Regions from separate parts of the Homo sapiens genome. Here regions 1, 3, 4 and 5 are each linked to region 2. Evidence: promoter capture Hi-C in 16 types of primary human blood cells and fetal thymus (Javierre and others, 2016). All regions are on one chromosome and are shown on one strand. Each heading gives the region's core, a stretch centred on a gene start or on the middle of the fragment in contact. The rest is flanking DNA. Distances are from core to core; before and after follow the strand shown. Region 1 overlaps ATAD2B (ATPase family AAA domain containing 2B). Region 2 holds the start of ATAD2B (ATPase family AAA domain containing 2B). Region 3 overlaps FAM228B (family with sequence similarity 228 member B). Region 4 overlaps FAM228B (family with sequence similarity 228 member B). Region 5 overlaps SF3B6 (splicing factor 3b subunit 6).

Evidence for each region. The method cuts DNA at HindIII sites, captures the fragments that hold promoters and counts their contacts. A CHiCAGO score of 5 or more calls a contact.
Region 1: a contact is called between a fragment that was not itself captured here and the fragment with the promoter of ATAD2B in region 2, in 1 of 17 cell types (megakaryocytes). The highest score is 6.5, in megakaryocytes.
Region 3: a fragment that was not itself captured here is called in contact with the fragment with the promoter of ATAD2B in region 2 in 1 of 17 cell types (naive B cells); the score reaches 5.1 in naive B cells.
Region 4: a contact is called between a fragment that was not itself captured here and the fragment with the promoter of ATAD2B in region 2, in 2 of 17 cell types (megakaryocytes and M2 macrophages). The highest score is 6.4, in megakaryocytes.
Region 5: a fragment that was not itself captured here is called in contact with the fragment with the promoter of ATAD2B in region 2 in 17 of 17 cell types (total CD8 T cells, naive CD4 T cells, megakaryocytes and 14 more); the score reaches 15.7 in total CD8 T cells.

The regions. Positions count from the first base shown.
Region 1 is chr2:23,789,677-23,793,800 of GRCh38, reverse strand. All of the region lies in intron 19 of ATAD2B (ATPase family AAA domain containing 2B), which reads left to right. Among named protein-coding and RNA genes, the nearest start is that of ATAD2B, 140 kb to the left of the region's middle. The HindIII fragment of the contact is 857 bases long and covers 1,262-2,118 here.
Region 2 is chr2:23,924,833-23,928,956 of GRCh38, reverse strand. ATAD2B (ATPase family AAA domain containing 2B) reads left to right here and starts at 1,834. Exons shown (of 28, transcript NM_017552.4): 1 at 1,834-2,402. The coding sequence starts at 2,187. It also overlaps a transcript of UBXN2A not described here. RefSeq lists enhancers at 1,308-1,397, 984-1,900, 2,658-2,707, 1,901-2,819, 2,918-3,167 and silencers at 1,568-1,897, 2,098-2,177. The HindIII fragment of the contact is 2,488 bases long and covers 1,339-3,826 here.
Region 3 is chr2:24,126,142-24,130,547 of GRCh38, reverse strand. All of the region lies in intron 2 of FAM228B (family with sequence similarity 228 member B), which reads right to left. Among named protein-coding and RNA genes, the nearest start is that of FAM228B, 4.9 kb to the right of the region's middle. The HindIII fragment of the contact is 6,726 bases long and covers 1-4,406 here.
Region 4 is chr2:24,168,000-24,172,030 of GRCh38, reverse strand. It overlaps FAM228B (family with sequence similarity 228 member B), which reads right to left. Exons shown (of 11, transcript NM_001145710.2): 11 at 2,393-2,675. LOC105374328 (a long non-coding RNA gene) reads left to right here. Exons shown (of 4, transcript XR_939833.4): 2 at 3,974-4,031. Among named protein-coding and RNA genes, the nearest start is that of FAM228A, 5.0 kb to the left of the region's middle. The HindIII fragment of the contact is 5,340 bases long and covers 1-4,031 here.
Region 5 is chr2:24,064,943-24,069,414 of GRCh38, reverse strand. SF3B6 (splicing factor 3b subunit 6) reads left to right here. Exons shown (of 4, transcript NM_016047.4): 3 at 956-1,094; 4 at 1,564-1,829. The coding sequence ends at 1,653. Among named protein-coding and RNA genes, the nearest start is that of SF3B6, 9.1 kb to the left of the region's middle. The HindIII fragment of the contact is 283 bases long and covers 1,611-1,893 here.

The DNA of each region.
Region 1 (4,124 bases), core at 441-2,940, 140 kb after region 2:
GGTCTCTAGACCACTAGCACTTTCAGGTGTTACTGGCCATCATTTCTCCCATTCCTAGCACAGTGCTAACACATTGGAATTACTCTGTAAAAGTTTGCTGCATGAAAAAAGGAACTAACAGTTGAATCATCACGTAGGATTTAAGTAACCCTTGCCCAGCCTCACTCGCTTTCTGCATAATTCTTTCTTTTAAAATATTTTTTCTTTAAATTTTTGACCACTTGAGAACCATGCAGAATTGTAGTGTAAGTAAATTTACTTTTATAAACCCTTTCTGAAGATACTTGGAGAATTTTATTTGAGATATATGGGAATTGCAAGGTATTTATGGAGAATTAGAGAAGAGAGTTAATTTAAGGTTGAGCACAGAAAAAAGACTCTTAAGGGAGGAAGCAAATAAATTAGAGATATTTGTAGGAAGGAATGTAAACCTTGGCCAGAATTGTATTTCTGTTTCTGAAGACATTCACAGTATCTGCTTTGTTATTAAATTATTATGAGCAGGTTTAAGATTATATAATTCAGTATATTGGAAATGAATTTTAAAGAAATATTCCTCAGCTATGCTGATGAAAGTAAGATTACATATAGCATTTTGTTATCTTAAATGTTTCTTGTCATTGTCTCTCTAGGTTTATGGTAGGACCTGGGAGGGGAAAATCAGTAACTTCAATTAGAAAAATCAAGTAGGGGCATTGAAAACTCAGATTAATGATCATAAGATACAAGGGAACTGTTTTAATATTAATATTTTGGTAATAAAACAATTACGTGATTCTTAAAATTTAAGAGGAAGGAAATCTTCTCAAGTTTTTTTTTTTTTTTTTTTTTTTTTTTTGAGACAGAGTCTCTCGCTGTTGCCCAGGCTGGAGTGCAGTGGCACAATCTCGGCTCACTGCAAGCTCTGCCTCCCGGGTTCACGCCATTCTTCTGCCTAAGCCTCCTGGAGTAGCTGGGACTAAAGGCGCCCGCCACCACGCCCAGCTAATTTTTTGTATTTTTAGTAGAGAAGGGATTTCACTGTGTTAGCCAGTATGGTCTTGATCTCCTGACTTCGTGATCCACCCACCTCAGCCTCCCAAAGTGTTGGGATTACAGGTGTGAGCCACCGTGCCCGGCCACAAGTTTTTTTTCCCTAAGTGAAATAGGATAGTAGGTAAACATAGTTACTATTTTGAGATATGTAAACTATTTCTATTTTTATTTAATGGGTTGATATCCTATTTTGTTTTGAGCAAAGCAAATTTTATTTATGAAAGCTTTCTTAGGTTTATTTCTGACCTCTTTTTCACACCTTTTGTTATTGAGATCTTAAGTTCTTTTTTTTTTTTTTAGATCTTAAGTTCTTAACCATTAATTTTTCTTATTACAAAGGTTGCAGGAACCCTACCTTCAAAACTGGGGACTAACAATTCTAAGGAATGTGTTAATAAATTCGATAAAACAAAAAGGTTGGCCAGGTGCCATAGCTCATGCCTGTAATCCCAGCACTTTGGGAGGCTGAGGCTGGTGGATCACGAGGTCAGGAGATCGAGACCATCCTGGCCAACGTAGTGAAACCCCGTCTCTACTAAAAATACAAAAATTAGGCTGGGCGTGGTGGCACGCTGCTTGGGAGACTGAGGCAGGAGAATGGCGTGAACCCAGGAGGCGGAGCTTGCAGTGAGCCGAGATTGCACCACTGCACTCCAGCCTGGGCGACAGAGCAAGACTCCGTCTCAAAAAAAAAAAAAGATGGCTGTTATTAAAAAAAAACAGAAATTAACAAATGTTGATGAGGATGTGGAAAAAGGAGAACCTTTTTGCATTGCTGGTGGGAATGTAAAATTGTATAGCCACTGTGGAAAACAGTATGACATTATCTTAAATATATAAATGCCATATGATCCAGCCAATCAAGTTCTAGGTACTTACTCAAAAGAATTGAAAGCAGGGACTTGAACAGGTATTTGCACACCCATGTTCACAACAGCATCATTCATAGTAACCAAAAGGTGGAAACATCCTCAGTGTCCATTGATAGTTGAAAGGATAAACAAAATGTAGCATATACAATGGAACATTATTTAGCCTTAAAAAGGAGAAAATTTTGATGCATGTTGTAACATGGATGAAGCTTGAAGACATTATGCTAACTTAGTCATAGGACAAATTTTGTATAATTCCTTTTATATGAGGTTCCTTAGAGTATATGTAAATGGATGATAAGTGTATGAAAAGATGCTCATTATCAGTCATTCAGGAATGAAATACCACTGCAACCCACTAAAATATAGGTTGGGCAAGAGTAATTGCGTTTTTTGCCATTGAAAGCTGCAAAAAAAAAAAAAAAGTGCTTTTGCACCAACCTAATAGCTGTAATCAAAAATAAAGAATACCAAGTATTGGCAAGGATATAGAAACTGGAGTCCTTATATACTGCTGGTGGGATTGTAAAATGGTGCAGCCACTTTCCAAAGTTAAACATAAATTTATGGTATGACTCAGCAATTCCACTCCTAGTTATCTACACAAAAGAAATGAAAACATACTTTCACAGAAAGACATTTGTATGGGAATGTTTCTAGTTGTTGTACTCATACTAGCAAAAAGTGGAAACAATCCAAATGTTCCTTAATTGGTGAATGGCTAAACAAAATGTGATGAAATACTATTCAGCAATAAATGGAATGAAATACTAATACATACTACAACTTGGAAAAACCTGAAGTTTTAAGTGACAGAAGCCAGGCATAAAAGACTGTCAGTTGTATGATACAAAATGTCTAGAAGAGGCAATTCTCTAGAGACAGAAAGCATTATCAGTGGTTGTTAGGCTGGGACATGGGAGTGGGAGTGGGGATTGACTGCAGATAGGCCTGAGGAAACTTTTTGGGGTAATGGAAATGTTCTAAAATGTGCTTGTGATGGCTACACATCTGTAAAAATTTACTGAACATTATTGAACTGTTTTTTCAGAAATATTGGAAGGTGTGCCTAAGTGCATCTGGGAAAGTTAGGGAAGGCATCACACAGAAAGCATCAGCTTGAGTGGTGCATTAAAGAAGGGGTCAGGAATGAGTGAATACTATGTATCACAACCAGTGTGAACCAATGTGAAACAGAGCGTGATTTGTTCTGGGAATTATGGAAGGCTTGTCTTTGGTACACCATGAAGTTTGAGGCTAGGACTGTCAGAAGATAAAGTTAGGAGTGAACTTAGAGAAGTATAATTTATCCCACTTATAAAATGTTGGATTCTAAGGTGTTGGTAGTAACCTGGTAAGAATATCCATGGATTATTGTAGGCCTGTTCTTGGTATGCTTTTGTATTCATAAAGTGTTAACATAGTATTGAAAATTATCAGAGAAAATAGTTAAAATGAAATGTTTTGCCATTCTTGAACGAAATCGTGGTACGTCTAGGATATTAAGTTCTACTTATTTTTCAAGACCCAATTGATATAAGTGATTTCTGGTACATCTTACCTAGTGTCTTTTCACCCCTTGCAAGGTCTCTGCTCTGTTTTGCTACCTCTGTTACAGTACTCCCAGCATAGTATCATAATGCTTTTCTTCTGATACTCTAAAATCTTTGACAGCAGAGAACAAAGACATTTTCTTCAGTTTTATAACTGCAGTGTCTGGCATGATGTTTGACATACAAAGCATGTTCAGTAGTAAATTTACTTCCAGAACTTTCAAAGAAAGGCCATCAAAGCATTGATTAAAGGGTTGGAGGGAACTGTGCATGAAGGTAGTCTACAAAAGCACTGGAACGACACAAGGTGAAATTTTATGAACTTTTAAATGATTTGACTTTAGGTTGAGATAAATAATTCCCCATCCAGTTTTTGAATTCTGATGTTTACCTTTCATTGTTTCTTCTTCTCTTAGAATTTCAGAGCTGGAAAAGGCATTGACAGTTTATATAATTTAGTCTTCTTTATTCACTTTATTACCTTAAGCCAATTACTTAAATCTTTCTAAGCCCCAGTTTCCCCATCTGTAAAATGAGGAAATAATACTTACCTCATTGTTATGAAGGTAGAATGATATCATATTTATGGAATTTTTAAGGGTTCATTTCATAGGTTTAATCCAGTAAGTGGTTAGAAATGACAAACTGAATGAATTATTCAAAT
Region 2 (4,124 bases), core at 585-3,084:
TGTGATAGCTACTTGACCCAGGAAAATCCAGGTATGGTTCCATTATGAGGAATCCCACCCATTAAGACATCAACTCTAAGTGGCAGGTGAAGTGTCCAGGAGAGGATGTGGTATGCAAATTGTGTCAGAAGGATTTATCTATTCTGGAATCCATACTGGTTCCCAAACAAAAAAAATTGTCATTTCCAGTGTTGTACAGTTTTTTGGAATGATTGGGAGCTTAGATGGCCAGAATGCTCTAAGTTTGATGCCATTTGGTCATTTTCAGGACTTTTCCTGAGTTTTCAATTTTTCTTAGTTTAATAAACAGTTTAATAAACTCCTGCCCAATAAACAGTAGGCTATGTCTAATGTACTGTGAATTTTATTTTTTTTTTTTTGAGATGGAGTCTCATTCTGTCACCCAGGCTGGAGTGCAGTGGCACGATCTTGGCTTACTGCAATCTCTGCCTCCCGGGTTCAAGCGATTCTCCTGCCTCAGCCTCTCAAGTAGCTGGGATTACAGGCATGCACCACGACACCTGGCTAATTTTTTGTATTTTTAGTAGAGAGGGGGTTTCACCATGTTGGCCAGGTTGGTCTCGAACTCCTGACCTCAAGTGATCCGCCCGCCTTGGCCTCCCAAAGTGCTGGGATTACAGGCGTAAGCCCGGCCTGTACTGTGAATTTTTGAAATGAACCTAATTCCTACTTTACAGCAGAGCTTTTCTTTCTTTCTTTTTCTTTCTTTCTTTCCTTTCTTTCTTCCTTTCTCTCTCTCTTTCTTCTTTTTTTTTTTTCTGAGACAGGGTCTGGCTCTGTCATCCAGGCTGGAGTGCAGTGGCGTGATTTCGGCTCACTGCAACCTCCATCTTCTGGGTTCAAGTGGTTCTCATGCCTCAGCTTCCCGAGCAGCTGGGATTACAGGTGCCCACCACAACACCCATCGATTTTTTGTATTTTTAGTGGAGACAGGGTTTCACCATGTTGGTAAGGCTGATCTAGAACTCTTGACCTCAGGTGATCCACCCACCCCGGCCTCCCAAAGTACTGGGATTACAGGCTTGAGCCACCGCACCCGGCCTACAGCAGAGCTTTTCATATGAATTGTGTGGCTTAATTTTTTTTTCTTTGGAAGTTAAATTGCAAATGCTTTATCTGTGGGTTCAGCTTTTTGTATTCTTAATTCTTCAGCGGGCCGGGGGCAGGGGGCGGCGATAGAGGCGGCTCTTACAGGGTACTCATTCTTTGGCTCCGCCTTAGATCTGGCTAAGGGGATAGAAAACGACCCTGCCTCGCTTTGTTTAAAAACGCAGAGTTCTAGCATGGTGTTTCCCCCCCCCCTTCTCTTCTTAAGCTTACCAAGTTCCAGATACCGCCCAGATGAATTTTTTTTTTATCACAGCTGTCATTCTCATTTCTACAGGCATGAAAAGTGCGACTCAAGTTCAGTGTCTTGCCTCGGGTAGCTTGGGGATTCCCAGTCAGCTCCTCGCGCCTTCGTCGCCGCTCCCCTTCCACCCCGCGCCTTCGCCGGCCGTCCCCTGCTCCATCCAGGCCACGGGGGTGACGGTGGGGTCTGGGGCATTCAGGCCTGGCTGGGCATGAGGGCTTCAGGCCCAATTCCACGCCCGAACTCGTCCTGATTAGTCTGGCTTTTCTGGTCGCCCCAGCCCTGCGGTCGGGGAGAGCTGGAAACCACCGAGCTGACAGCCTAGAGCGTCGCTCCCCGGCCGCCGAGCGCTGACGCCGCGCCGGGGGCGGGGCAGCTGGAGGCGGCAGGGAGAGGAGCGAGCAGCCGGGAAGGGCTGGCCGGCTTCGCAGCGCCCCGCCGTGGCTGCGGCCGGAAGCGGTCTCGTTGGCCCTGCGGCGCTGGAGCCTTGACGCACGGAGCTCGAGAGCGAGAACGGGAGAGAAAGGGGTAGAAATGGCGGCTCCGCTCGGCTCCCGCTGAGGAGGGCGAAGCCGGCGGAGTGTCTGTGCTGCCGGTCTGCAGCACCGCCCCCGCTTCCCGCACGCCGCCTGCTCACGCCGACTTCCCTTCCTCTGCCCGGCTCTCTCTTGTGCTCGTCTGCGCTCCGCACGCTCCGGGCCGGCTCGTCTCTCATTGCCCGGCTCGGCTCCGCTGGCCCTGACTGACCGGCCGGCGGGCCGGCCTTGCTCGGCTCTCCCGGGCGCGGCGTGGACTCCGTCCCCCTGGCTGGACCATGGTGAACACCCGGAAGAGCTCTCTCCGCCTTCTCGGGTCCAAGTCTCCTGGTCCCGGGCCTGGGCCTGGGGCCGGAGCAGAGCCTGGGGCGACCGGAGGCAGCAGCCATTTCATCTCCTCTCGGACCCGCTCCTCCAAGACCCGCGCCGCCAGCTGCCCCGCCGCCAAAGCCGGGGGAAGCGGTGGCGCCGGCGTCACTCTGGATGAGGCCAGGGTAAGAGCGCGGCGTCCCGAGTCCGGAGGCTCGGAAGTGCCGGCCCTGCTGCCGGGGCTTTGTCTGGCCGGGTTGGGGGTAGGAAGCCTACAGTGGAGACCGCTCGGGCGGCTGGAGACAGGGTCTGCGGGCGCGGTGGAGGGTGGCACCCAGAGAAGGGCCGCGACGCTGGCCCCTTTGCTTTTCAAGCTGGCCCGGCTCTTTTGTGTGAAGAACAGCCCTTGAGTCCAGGGGAGAGGGCTTTGGGGGTCCCTTTCGGCGTCATTCGAACGATCTGCTGTCCGTGTCCTTGTCCTGCCCCAGAGGGGAATTCTAGCGGGGAAGCAAGAGCGAAGGGCCAGAGCCCCTGGGTGGAAGGGTTGGAGAAGTGAAAGTTTTCTGCGGTGTCAAACCCTTCTTGAAAGTGTGTCAGTTCCTGCCGCTGTCTAACTCCAGCTTACTCTCAGTTTGGGGGTGGTTCAAGTTGGTGAGGAAGTGAACAGAGAGCTCCAGTTGGCAGCCAGGCAGGGATGCTGAAAAAAGTTTGTAGCTGCTCTGACACCAACTTTAAAAACAAAATCAACGCTATCGCCTCTCCAGGCAGGAGAGATCAAACATGATATTATAGCTGGGGAACCAGCCAGCTAGCTCACCAAGGTGCTAGTAGGAACCAGAGCTTTCAGGTCACAGAAGGAGCACGTCGAAAGAAACAAGTGGAATGTTTCGGATAGTCAGCACCATCATGCCAAAACTGTGTGGTTTCTTGGGTGTCTACATTTTTGTTATGGGACTATATTACAAAAGGTGAATGAACACCATAGTCATGCAGTTGCAAAAATGACATTTAAAGACGCTGGTGATTGAATTAAAAAACTGATTGAAAGATCTTGAAATTTTATTACCTACATTATAAAGCTAAGCACAGATATTTATTGTTTTAAAGGAATTGACACGTTTGTTTTACTATGAGATTGTTTCTGAATTCAGAGAAGAGTGTATTGCTTCTGTCTAAAAGAGGTTGACTTGCTAAGTAATTTGGCTGGAAAAAGCTGTTCATTTAAAATGCTCCTTTAATTCCACACCATTTTGTGGTTCTTATTGGGGGAAAGCAATATTTTATGTTCTAGGGGTCTACAAGATCGCGGTTTGTGTGTGCTTTTCTTTGTGTCTTACACTGTTTTGACACTAACAGAATGGATCTAGGCAGAGACAGGAATATTTTACCATACTACTCTGAAATATTTTTATTATATCTTTGAAAATCGTTTTGGCTTTTCTTTGATAAAATTTTGGGCATTATAACGTCCTATTTAATAGACTATTTTGGGGGCTTACAGCTCTCTTAGGTTGAAATAAGGTTAAATCTGAAAGTTGTGCAAACTGTTGAGAATAAGTACTTTGAAGACGAGGCTTTCGGTGGAAACTATTCCAAACATGTTCAAGCTTCTTGACCTACTGAGGCTATCACATATTTTAAAATAAAACTCAATTTAAGAAAAGATCTTTTCTGTACATTTAAGGACAAAGAAAATATTTAGGGTGTAAGCATTTAATCGTATCATGCTATGTGAATGCCTAGTCTGTTAGAGCAGTGTCTAACTCATCTGAAGCAATTAGCTCATCTTCACTCATCAGTTTGTGGTCCCATTTTTGAATTCATGGATATCATGCTGTCCTCACCCCCCGAGGAATAAGGTGAGGTAATTTGTCAAGCAGCTGTTATAGAGATGTTAAAAGGCTAGG
Region 3 (4,406 bases), core at 462-2,961, 200 kb before region 2:
CAATGCAAATGAAAACCATAATGAGATACCATCTCATGCCAGTCAGAATAGTGATTATTAAAGTCAAGAAACAATACATGCTTGTGAGGCTGTGGAGAAACAGGAGCACTTTTACACTGTTAGTGGGAATGTAAATTAGTTCAACCATTGTGGAAGACAGTGTGGCGATTCCTCAAGGATATTAGAACCAAAAATACCATTTGACGCAGCAATCCCATTTCTGGGTATGTACCTAAAGGAATATAAATCATTCTACTATAAAGACATCTGCACATGTATGTTTATTGCAGCACTATTTACAATAGCAAAGATATGTAACCAACCCAAATGCCCATCAATGATAGACTGGATAAAGAAAATGTACATATACACCATGGAATACTATGCAGCCATAAAAGGGAATGAGATCATGTCCTTTGCAGGGACATAGATGAAGCTGAAAGCCATCATACTCAGCAAACTAACACAGGAACCAGAAAACCAAACACCGCATGTTCTCACTCATAACTGGGAGCTGAACAATGAGAACACATGGACCCAGGGAGGGGAACAACACACATCAGGGCCAGTCGAGGGCTGGGGGTGAGGGGAGGTGAGCATTAGGACAAACAGCTAATGCATGCAGGGCTTAAAACCTAGATGACAGGTTGATAGCAAACCACCATGGCATATATATACCTATGTAACAAACCTGCACGTCCTGCACTTGTATCTCAGAACTTAAAGTAAAATAAGAAAAATAAAAAGAAAATTATATTGACATGAAAATCTGAAAAAAAGAAGACAAGGATTTGAGGACAGTTATGATAGCTATGCTTAAAAATATGCTTATAATTAATGAATAGAAAATCTTAGCAGAGAATAGAAATGATAAAAAACCAAGTGGAAAATACAGTTCTTAAATTTGAGAAATAAACAAACCTCAATGGGTTAGTAGCAGATTAGAGATGACATAAAAATAGTCAGTGAACTTGAAGACAGACTATTAGAAATTACCCAATCTGAAAAAAAAGGAAGAATAAAGATTAGAAAATAATAAACAGAGTCATAGTGACCTATGAGACAATATCAAACGATTCAGCAAATGGATAGAGTTGCAGAAGTGAGGAGTAAAAGAATGGAGCAGGAAACAACTGTTTGAAAAAATAATGTCTGGATGAGAACTTTCACTTTTGAACAAGACAGAGTAGCAGGAAACAGACTTACTCTCCCACCTGAAACAACTAAAAAAAAAAAAAAAAGATAAAATAGATGAAACAACAGTTTCCAAGATATCGAACATCAGGCAAAGAAGAACAGTGGCCCCTGAGAAATAGAAAACAAACAGCCCAACTGTCTGCCTGAATTGAGGAGTGGGGATGGGAGTCTGGAGAGGCCAGAGCAGTTGGAGTTCATAGGTTAGAGTACTAGAGGGAGGAGAGCTACAAGAAAGATGGAGCTCTGGAGAACTGCAAAGGGTCAACCGCAGAGGTCCCCTTGAGTCTTCAGCTGATCGTAAACACTACATGCCCAAAGGAACAATGGGCAAAGAAACACCTGCAAGAATTAGGGAATCAATCCCTAGAGGTCACACAGTCCCAGGAGTGTTTGTTCCCTTTAGCATCAGCCAGAGGAAAAAAAAAAAAATTCCCATAGTTTGAAGTGCATAGAGTAGAGTATTTGGAGAGGTTTTGTATCAGTACTGAAACAAAATTGGCCCTACGGTAGATACTGCTGTGGTCCTGTCAAGCAAAACTCGGAGGCAAGACCTGAAAGAATCCTGCTGTGTCCAAGTAACTTAACTGAATCCAAGGGGAAAAATGAAAAATATTTATGGGAAATCTGTGCACTTGTACTTAAAAAAAAAAGAGTATTTATAGCAAATCAAAAATATCTAGTACTCAATATGGTTAAAATTCACAGTCTTGCATTTAATCAAAAATCATCAGGCATACAAAGAAATAGGAAAATTTAACCAATAATCACCAGGTATACAAAGAAATAGGAAAATTTAACCAATAATAAGAAGGAAAATTAACCAAAACTGCCCCCAAAATGACAAAGACACTATAATTATTAAACCAGGACATTAAAAGTTATTATTCCTGTAGTTCATAAGTTAGGGAAGCTAGAAGACTAGACATGTTGAGACAGAAAAAAATGTTTGAAAAAGAGCTAAGGGCCAGGCATGATGGCTCACACCTGTAATCCCAGTGCTTTGGGAGGCCAAGGTAGGAGGATCACTTGAGGCCAGGAGTTCAAGACCAGCCTGGGCTACATAGAGAGATCCCGTCTCAACAACAACAACAACAGCAACAAACCAACAAAAAACGAAACAAAAGAATCCAGATAAAACTTCTAGGGACACAAATTATACTTGAGATAAAAATATGCTAGGTAGGTTTATTAGCAGATTAGACATTACAGAAAGTTAGTGAACTTAAAAGCATAGCAACAGCAGCTTTCCAAAATGAAATGCACGGGGGAAAAACTGAAGAAAATTACCAGAATATCAGTGAGCTACAGGACAATTTCAAGCAGGTTATTGTACATACAGTTGTATTTCCCAAAAGATGGAGGGAATAGAAAAAATAATTTAAGAAATAGGCCAGGCACAGTGACTCATGCCCGTAATTCCATCACTTTGGGAGGCCAAGGCAGGCGGATCACTTGAGGCCAGGAGTTCAAGATCAGCTTGGCCAACATGGTGAAACCTCAACTCTTCTAAAAATACAAAAATTAGCTGGGCATGGTGGTGCACATCTGTAATCCCAGCTACTCGGGAGGCTTAGGCACAAGAATTGCTTGAACCCGGGAGGCGGAGGTTGGAGTAAGCTGAGATCATGCCACTGCACTGCAACCCGGGTGATAGAGTGAGACTCAGCTGAAAAAAAAAAAAGAAATAATGGCTGAAAATTTTCCAGATTTGTCAGAAACTATAAACCCACAGATACAAGAAGTTCAATGAACTCTGAGCAGTGGAGAAATTGTAACTTTCATACATTGCTATGAAAATTTAAAACGGTATCACTGCTGTGGGAAACAGTTCAGCAGTTCCTCAAAAAGTTAAACATATAGTTACCATATGACCCAACAAACAATTCCACTCCTAGGTTACATACCCAAGAGAACTGCAATCATGTTACCTAAAAAGTTACACAAAATGTTCATAGCAGCATTATTCATAACAGCAAAAAAACAGAAACAACCCAAAAGTCCATCCACTGATGAAGGGATAAACAAAATGTGATACTGAGACAATGGAATATTATTTGGTCATCAAAAGGAATAAAGTACTGCTTATGCTCTGACACGGACAAACCTTGAAAACATTATACTAAGTGAAAGCAGTCACTAAGGACCACATATTGTATGATACCATTTGTATAAAATGTCCAGAGTAGACAAATCTGTTTAGACAGGAAGTAGATCAGTGTTGCCAGGAGCCAGAGAGGGAGGGGAATGGGGGGTGACTGCTAAAAGGTGTGAAGTTTCTTTTTGGGGGTGATGAAATGTTCTGGAATTAGATAGTGGTGACAGTTGCACGGATTTGTGAATATACTAAAAAACACTGAAAATAAAAATTCTGAATTTAAAAAAAAATAAAAAACACTGAATTGTACACTTTAGAGTAGTGAATCTTGGCCGGGCGCCCGGTGGCTCACGCCTGTAATCCCAGCACTTTGGGAGGCCGAGGCGGGCAGATCATGAAGTCAGGAGATCGAGACCATCCTGGCTAACGTGGTGAAACCCCTCTCTACTTTTTTTTTGTAAAAATACAAAAACAAAAATTAGCCAGGTGTGGTGGCAGGCACCTGTAGTCCCAGCTACTTGGGAGGCTGAGGCAGGAGAATGGCGTGAACCGGGGAGGCAGAGTTTGCAGTGAGCTGAGATCACGCCACTGCGTTCCAGTCTGGGCGACAGAGCAAGACTCTGTCTCAAAAAAAAAAAAAAAAGTAGTGAATCTTATGGCATGTAAATTATATCTCAATAGGAAGAGTCCAACAGTAAGAATACAAACAACCCAACTTAAAATTGCCAATTTTAAAGTGGGCAAAAGATTTGAACAAACACTTTGCCAAAGAAGATAGATAAATGGCAAGTAAGACTTGAAAAGATGCTCATAATCAGTCATTAAGGAAATGCAAATTAAAACCACAATGAGATGTCACTATACATCTTTTTAAAATGTCTTGAGTTAAAAAGGCCATACAATAAATCAGTATAAATAAAACTATTCCAAATGTTGGCTAGATTATGAAACAACTGGAACTCTCACACACTACTAGTGGGAATGTAAAATAATTCAATGACTTTGGAAACTAGTTTGGCAGCTTCATAAAGTTAAATTCATTTACCATATGACCCAGTCACTCCACAACTAAATATCTACCCAAGAGAAATGAAAGCATACGTCCATACAAAGA
Region 4 (4,031 bases), core at 505-3,004, 240 kb before region 2:
AGACTTTTTTTTTTTTTTTTTGAGATGGCGTCTCTTGCTCTATTGCCCAGGCTGGAGTGCAGTGGCGCAATCTTGGCTTACTGCAGCCTCCCCGTCCTGGGTTCAAGCGATTCTCCCGCCTCAGCTTTTCTGAGTAGCTAGGCTTGCAGGTGCCCCCCTACCATGCCCAGCTAATTTTTGTATTTTTAGTAGAGATGGGCTTTTGCCATTTTGGTCAGGCTGGTCTCAAACTCCTAACCTCAGGTGATCCACCCTCCTCGGCCTCCCAAAGTGCTGGGATTACAGGCGTGAGCCACTTCACCTGGCCAGAGGTGGACTCGATGGCAGCACCTCCCTGTTCTTCTCTGTGGCTAATTGGTCAAGGAGTGTACACCTGACCCAAGTCTAGGATCAGATTCTCCTGTCTTTCTTCTAGGATTATAGACGTCTAACCAAAACAGAGACTTGGAAAGGTGTTGTGAGTCACGTTCATGACAACAGCCTAGAAGGGTCTGAGATGCCTGCTGCTCAGGGGCCAGTGCTGTCAAGGTTCCTGCCATTCCTGTGGAATTCAGTTTTTTCTCAGGGTTCTGTAAGATGCTTTGGCACTCTTTCAATGAAATTTTTTTTTTTAATCCCAACCACTAGACCACCAGGGACCATTTGTGCTTATGTTAGCTCTGGTTAGCTTGTTACTTGCAATACAAATGATCTCAAATAATACAGAAATAGTACAAGGCTTCAGAGGAAATGTGAGATATTTGGAATTGGTATTCGTGTCAAAGTGCAGGGAAAGGAAAGGCATCTTCTCTTCACCATGTGGAATGAGCAACTATATTTGTGATACGACATCTGGGATTTGCTTCAAAGTCATCCAGTTAGGGTTGAGAAGTAGGTATGCATATACACAAAACAAGACTGGACATGAGGTAATCAGTATTGAAGCTGGATGTCAGAAACATAAGGATTCATTATACAATTATAATTATTTTTTCTGTAATTCTCTGAAATTGTGCATAGTATAAAGTTTTAAAAATCTAGTTTTCAGCCAGGTGCAGTGGCTCATGCTTGTAATCCCAGCACTTTGGGAGGCTGAGGCGGGTGGATCGCTTGAGCCCAGGAGTTCAAGATCAGCCTGGGCAACATGGTGAGACCTCATCTCTACAAAAAATACAAAAAATTAGCCAGGCATGATGGCGTACACCTGTAGTCGTAGCTACTCGGGAGGCTGAAAGGCGGAGAATTGCTTGAACCTGGGAGGTCCAGCCTGCAGTGAGCCATGATCATGCCACTGCACTCCAGCCTGGGCAACAGAACGAGACCCTGTTTCAAAAAAAAAAAAAAAGAAAGAAAGAAAGAAAATCTAGTTTCACTTAGAACCATATATTGATTAGGGGTGAGATGTTGGGAGACTAGATAACTGTCAGGGTAGAATAATTTAAAGAGGATGAGGAATATGGAATGAGAGAAAAATGGATAATTTAAAGCAAGATAATATAAAGCTCAGATGCCAGAATGTGCAAGGCATTAAAATATAGGGCCACTATTTTTAATAAATCTTATTCCATCTGTGGCCCTCAAGTTCATAAATTGATCCTGTAGGTTGCTGAATTGCAATTCCAGATGGATTAACATTGCTGCCAGTCTTTTATATGAAATCTAGGGCATTGACTAGGAAAGAGGGGGATCTTGGAATTATATATATTTGGGGAACAGACAGAACTGAAGAAGTCAGACTCCCCCAAGTCTTTTGAAAAGGTTACCATGGTGTCCCTTTGCCTAAGGAAAACAGAATTCCACTCTTCTATGCTCTGTGTCCTACTGTGTCTTCCTGTGACCAAGATTCAAACTCAACATGAGCCAGAGGGCAATGTTTAGAATCAGCAAGTGAGTAATTATACCCTAAATGAATTTTTTTTTTTTTAAGATGGAGTCTTGCCCTGTCACCCAGGCTAGAGTGCAGTGGTGCAATCTCGGCTCACTACAGCCTCCACCTCCAGGGTTCAAGCAATTCTCATGCCTCAGCCTCCCAAGTAGCTGGGATTACAGGTATGTGCCATCACACCTGGCTAATTTTTGTATTTTTAGTGGAGACAGGGTTTTGCCACGTTGGCCAGGTTGGTCTCGAACTCCTGACCTCAAGACAGGTGTTCAGATGGAGGCCGAGGCGGGTGGATCGCTTGAGCCCAGGAGTTCGAGATCAGCCTGGGCAACATGCCTCAGCCTCCCCAAAGTGCTGGGATTACAGGCATGACCCACCTCACCTGGCCAACCCCAAATGAATTTTTAAATTTTCTAAAGAATGTTGGGAAAACCTGGGGAGGATATGTGGATGTGGCCATGAAGTGTGCATGACCAAAGGGAGCATACCTTAATTGAGGAACAAGCCAAATATACAGAGATGGACACTTAGTGAGGGAGCTGTAATTATTTTTATTGGTTCGTTCAGCAATATTTCTTAACTTCTGGGGAAAATACATGGTATTGCCATTTCTTAATTATCACAGACACTGAACTCAAAAATTAAAGGAAGTTCGTTGCAGATGCTTTTTTTTTAGAGACAGGACAATTCTTGAGTGCCGTCCTTGGCCTTCACCCTGATTCCTGTGAGCAGATGACTTCCTCTGAAGCAGCCTGATTTTGTGTATCCTTTCACCAATCAAGGATCAGGGTGTGTGCTCCTTGGTTGCTGAAACCTTTTGAAGGTGACAAAAGGGAAGAGTTGAGTGTGGTATGGGGATGAGGGGCTTACGAGAGCAGAAAGCGTTCCCCAGCTAAGCTGAGCTGATCCCCCTGAAGCCTGTCCTGCCAGAGCCGAGTGACTCATCTCTCAGGCAGGGTCTCCACCTAGGCCTCCTGCCTCAGCCTTTCCTCGCGCTGTCTGGAGTCAGAAGCACTGAGAGATTCAGGGACATGGTCAAATAGATGGGGTGGATCACTGATGTGTGACATGATTTGAGGGAACCCCTGTGGTCTCAGCTTTCAGATGTCAACATGTTTGGAGTACTAATTTCCACTTGGATTGTTGTGATTTAGAAAATACTAGGTTCCTTTCTTCCCTTTTCTCTTCAAACCTCTAAATTCTCTATTCTGTGCCTCGCGATCAGCTGATGATCTCACTTGAGAAAATGAGTAAACAGAAGGAAACAATCTTCCTTTGCAAAATCCACTGAGCTAGTTTGACCTATATCCATGTACTCAGCCTTCCCTCTTCATACAATGGATAGAGTGTCCTGTCCACCTGAGTCCAGGGTGCTGCCTCCTCACCTGTGGAAGGACTCTGCCCTTCTATTATACCCCCTCTCTCTCCAGCATCATCAAATCTCCCTCTCTATGGGAGCATTCCCATCAGGAAACATACATGTTATAATATCAATATCGCTGATAAAAATATTCCCTTACCTTACCTTCTCCAGCCACTTTATAGCAAAACCCCACAAAAGCATTGCTTATTCTGTCTCCACTTCCTCACCCCAATTCTCTCCTGAACCCACTCTAATCAGCTTTCATTTCAGCTGCTCCACTTAACCTCTCTGATGAAAATCAGCAGTTAGGCCTATATCTCCCCAGTCCTCATTTTACCTCCCTCTCAGCAGCATTGCCACATGGCTGGGCATGCCCTCTTTTCTGAAACCCTTTCTCTACTGGGCCTCTGCAGCAGCACATACTTCTGCTTTGCTTCCTTCCATACCAACCTCTCGCTCCATGAATGTTCCTTCACCAGCTCTGCCTCCTTGCCCCAACCTCTAAATCTTGGCGTTCCGCAGGACTAACCCTCGGCCTTCTTCTCTTTGACACTCACCCCCAGGTGATTGCATGATTTCACATAGCATCTATATGAGGATGACTCTCAAAAACCTGTCTCCACCCCCAGTCTCCCCTGAACTCCAGACCGGTACATCCACCTGCCTACTGTATATCTCCTCTTGGGTATAGGATGAGCATCTACAAAGATACTGAAATGGATCTAATTTTAGTCTCAGTATCTCTTTAGGTGATAGAGGCTATGTTCCTAAGTGAAGAATGAAGTAGTGGCAGTTCCATCAGATGCT
Region 5 (4,472 bases), core at 503-3,002, 140 kb before region 2:
TGCTCCTCAAACTTCTCTACCTCTCCCAGAGGAAGTTGGTGAGGTGAAGGAAGGAAGTGGCCAGGAATAACTACACTAACAGCAACCTCGTATCCATAAGTAAGGTTAGCTTCCACTTCCAGCCACCTTCCAGCATTCTGCCCTGGCTCACTGATAACCCTATCCACAAGCACACTTCCACTCCCATCTTTGCAGAAGCCTAGCCCTTCTCCCTAGCCACACAGCTGTATCGTGCATTAGCACTTGAGTTGTATTAAAAATGAATGTAGACCGGGTGTGGTGGCTCATGCCTGTAATTCCAACACCTTGGGAGGCTGAGGCAGGCGGATCACTTGAAGTCAGGAGTTTAAGACCAGCCTGGGGAACATGATGAAACCCTGTCTCTACTAAAAATACAAAAATTAGCTGGGCATGGTGGCACATGCCTCCAGTCCCAGCTACTTGGGAGGCTGAGACACAAGAATCACTTGAACTTGAGAGGCAGAGGTTGCAATGAGCTGAGATTGTGCCACTGCACTCCAGCCTAGGCAACAGAGTGAGAGTCTATCTCAAAAAAACAAAAACAAAAACAAAAACAAAACAAAACAAAGACAACGTAGAGCCAGTCAGGGTGGCAAGAGCACCTGTAGTCCCCACAACTCACGAGGCTGTTCTGTGTAGTAGCTGTGTTCTTAGTATTCCTGATGTGACAGTCAGCTTGACCTATGGATATTTTAGTTAAGATAAAAACGAAGAACAAAATTACCTAATTCAAGAAATTACAGGCTTATCCGGTATATCTATCCATGTTTATTTCCTCTGATGGTTTCAGGTTGATTTCAAAATACTTAACTAAAAACGTATTTCAATTTACTGTTTTTAAAAGACAGTTACCAGTTTAAAAGACAGTTCTGTAAGTCAACTATCAATGCTCAGGTAAATGTATATCTTAATTAAGTTTAACTTACCTCTCCAGGGGGAACACACCTGAAACTAGAGGAACAGCTTATGTGGTCTATGAGGACATCTTTGATGCCAAGAATGCATGTGATCACCTATCGGGATTCAATGTTTGTAACAGATACCTTGTGGTTTTGTACTATAATGCCAACAGGGTAAGTATAGCAAAGTTCTCATTGTGTAGTGATCTCATTTGAGAATTAGTGTAGAACTGGCCGGGCGCGGTGGCTCATGCCTGTAATCCCAGCATTTTGGGAGGCCGAGGTGGGCGGATCACGAGGTCAGGAGATCGAGACCATCCTGGCTAACACGGTGAAACCCCGTCTGTACTAAAAATACAAAAAATTAGCCGGGCGTGGTGGCGGGCGCCTGTAGTCCCAGCTACTCGGGAGGCTGAGGCAGGAGAATGGCGTGAACCCCAGGGGGTGGAGCCTGCAGTGAGCCAAGATCACGCCACTGCACTCCAGCCTGGGCAACAGAGAGACTCCGTCTCAAGAGAATTAGTGTAGAACTGTACTGTGATGATATATGTCTACTATGACTTTCTTTTTTGGCTAATGCTATTGATGAAATTCATTTGGCTGTAGATTGGTAATTTAATTTTGGTGCTTACCACATTTCCAGGCATTTCAGAAGATGGACACAAAGAAGAAGGAGGAACAGTTGAAGCTTCTCAAGGAGAAATATGGCATCAACACAGATCCACCAAAATAAATGTTTTCTACATTTTCATTTGGACTAAATCCCACGAATGACAACTACCACCTTTTTTTCCTTTTTAATTAATACTAAATATTGTGATTTCTTATTTGAGGTTCAAAATGACCTGCTTGAAACTTTGATACATATTGGAATACATTATGTTAATAAACTTGTAGCTTTTTGTGAAACACCTCAGTCTTTTCTCTTGAACTTTCCCTTCCTGTTTGATACCAGGAAAAAACAGTTGAAGCTTATCAAGAATTGTAGGTGCTCCTAGGGATTCTGAGTTTCTTGAGAACAGGATCTCTTTACATTCTTAATGCCTCCAGGGCCCGGTGCAGTGCTTAGCCATCAAAGGAACTTGCTGTTTATTGCATGTCCATTAATAATGAAATCTTCATAACAACTCAGTGAAGATAGGTATTTGCATTTTGCAGGTGAGGAAACCAAAGTTCATGATGTTGGTTGAATGAATAAAATGCTAACATACAAAGCTGGTGTGATAACAACCAGTTATTAACCAAGCCTTTACATTTGAATAATGCTTGCTTTATAGTTAACAAAACACCTGTGTCAATATGGGTACCCTTGTCTTTAGAACAGAGGTCTATTATAGAAATGGTCATTTAGATGATAGTACATTGTTAGAAACTTAGATTTGCCTCTTTAAATTGTTTTTTAATTATTATGGGTACATAATAATTGTCACATTGGTAGAAATTTGAGAGCAAGCTGCTTGGGTAGTGGCGTTGGTTGTTACATGTCTAAGATTGTATTTATGTAGACTTTTCCTTTAGTTATTAAGTATCTGTAGGTATATTGGACCTTAGCTCATAATATATCTTTGCCATAAATACTTAATGCTCATTCTTATTATCATGAGTTCCCATGACATGGAAACAGTATGGTTATTACCCCATTCATCATCATGGCAGCTTGGGAGAATATAGCCGTAATTTGCTTTTTATTGCTTAGGCATGGACCAAATGGAAAAACATGGACTAATTGTTTTGTGTGTGATTGGAACCTAAAATCAATTTGAAGGTACATACACTGAATCACTTCAATGTACAAAGAGCATCAATTCTGCTTTTAATTATATCTGAGTGTTTTTTGAAAGCAGTGTAAGAGAGTAGAGTCATTTCTAAGGGTGGGAAGATAAGAAAGGAGCTACAGCTGTAATTTTCTTTTGAATGCTTTTATGAATGCATTATTAGTTTTTGTAATGCACGGTGTGCCTTTAGGTAATGTAAAAAGAATTTTCTAAAAGACTTTCTTGTAAGAGAAAAACTGAAATTAGACTTTAAAACTTAGAGTGTGATTTGTCTAAGTGGCAGGCTAGCTTGCCTCTGGTGTAGTTGTTTTAATAACAAGGAGAAATTCCTTCTATTAGCAGTCATGACCAGTCCATCATTTGGATTGATATATCTGTTAGCTGAATTTCATGACCTAAAGTTAAGACTTAAAACTTCCCTCTAATTGTTTGGAAATTCCATATCCTGTCGCAATTAAGTTACAAGAACTTGCACTCAGTGGACAAACACTGACTCCCACTCTGCACACAGTACTGTACGAAGATGCTGAGGATATAATTATGATCGGTCCTCTGTGCAAGGCATCCAAAGCTCAATTTTTCAAATGCTTTTAAGAGTGCAACAGATGACTGTGTTTATATGTGCACACACATGTGCCAGAGCTGCTTTACTTTCATCTGGGTTAAATTTTTGAGTTTCTAAGAAAAAAATTCGTAGGAATAGAGAATTCATTGACTGAAAGTCTGAAAACAACTGATGTGACCTTGATCTTATTATTGCTCTTCTGTTTAACAGCTTTAGTGGCTCTCATAGGCCAATGTCCAGACTCATTAGCATACTGCATCATGATTTTCTGCATCATCTTTTAAGAGCTCCAGTAAAATGGTTCATTTCCCAGTTTACCTGCAGAGCCTCACCTGTCCTCTCCAGGTGCTAGCCAGTATGTGTTTGCACTTTGGGGGAGTTCTTTTAGTGGGTGTCTCCTTTGACCCACCTCAGTTATAAATACTCTAGACCAATATCTTTTATATGCCCCATAGTGGGCACCTGAAATAGTCCTTGATGCCATCTTTTGTTATCTTATTGGTGTCACAGCAGAAAATATGCGTATGTCTTTTATGCAGGCTGACTTCTGAGAAATTATTGTAGGCATTTGAGTCATCAAAGAAAGCCAGGAACCAAGACATTCTGAAGGAAATACCCTCTGGCTGGTCTAGTCTCACAATAGAGGTGAGCACAGGGACTTTGGTGACTAAAATGCAAGGCAGTTCCTTTCTCTCGTTTTCTCCATCCTAAAGCACTGCTTCTTCATTAGCTCCTCCACCCTCAGCAAAGGAATACAGCCAGGATTTCTTGGAGACAAAAAAGGTAGATCATGTAGCCAAGATGACATGGCCTCATAGCATATATATGACATCATGTGACATGTATCAGTGGGTCTATGAGGAACACTAACAGTACCTGTTATCAGCCCCTCCGTCCTCAATCTTGAAACAATTCGAAGTCGTCACTGATAGAAAACCGTATTGGCTGAGTGCAGTGATTTAAACCCATAATCCCAACACTTTGGGAGGCTGAGAGAAGATAGCTTGAGGCCAGGAGTTTGAGACCAGCCTGGGCAACATAGTGAGATTCCCCCATCTCTATTTTTTAAAAATAATAAATAAATGATTAAAAAAAAAAAAGAATAACCCCAACTATGGCCAGGAGTTTTTCTCATCCTATACCAACTGAAAGAAAAATGTTTGAGGCTGGGCGTGATGGCTCACACCTGTAATGCTAGCATTTTGGGAGGCC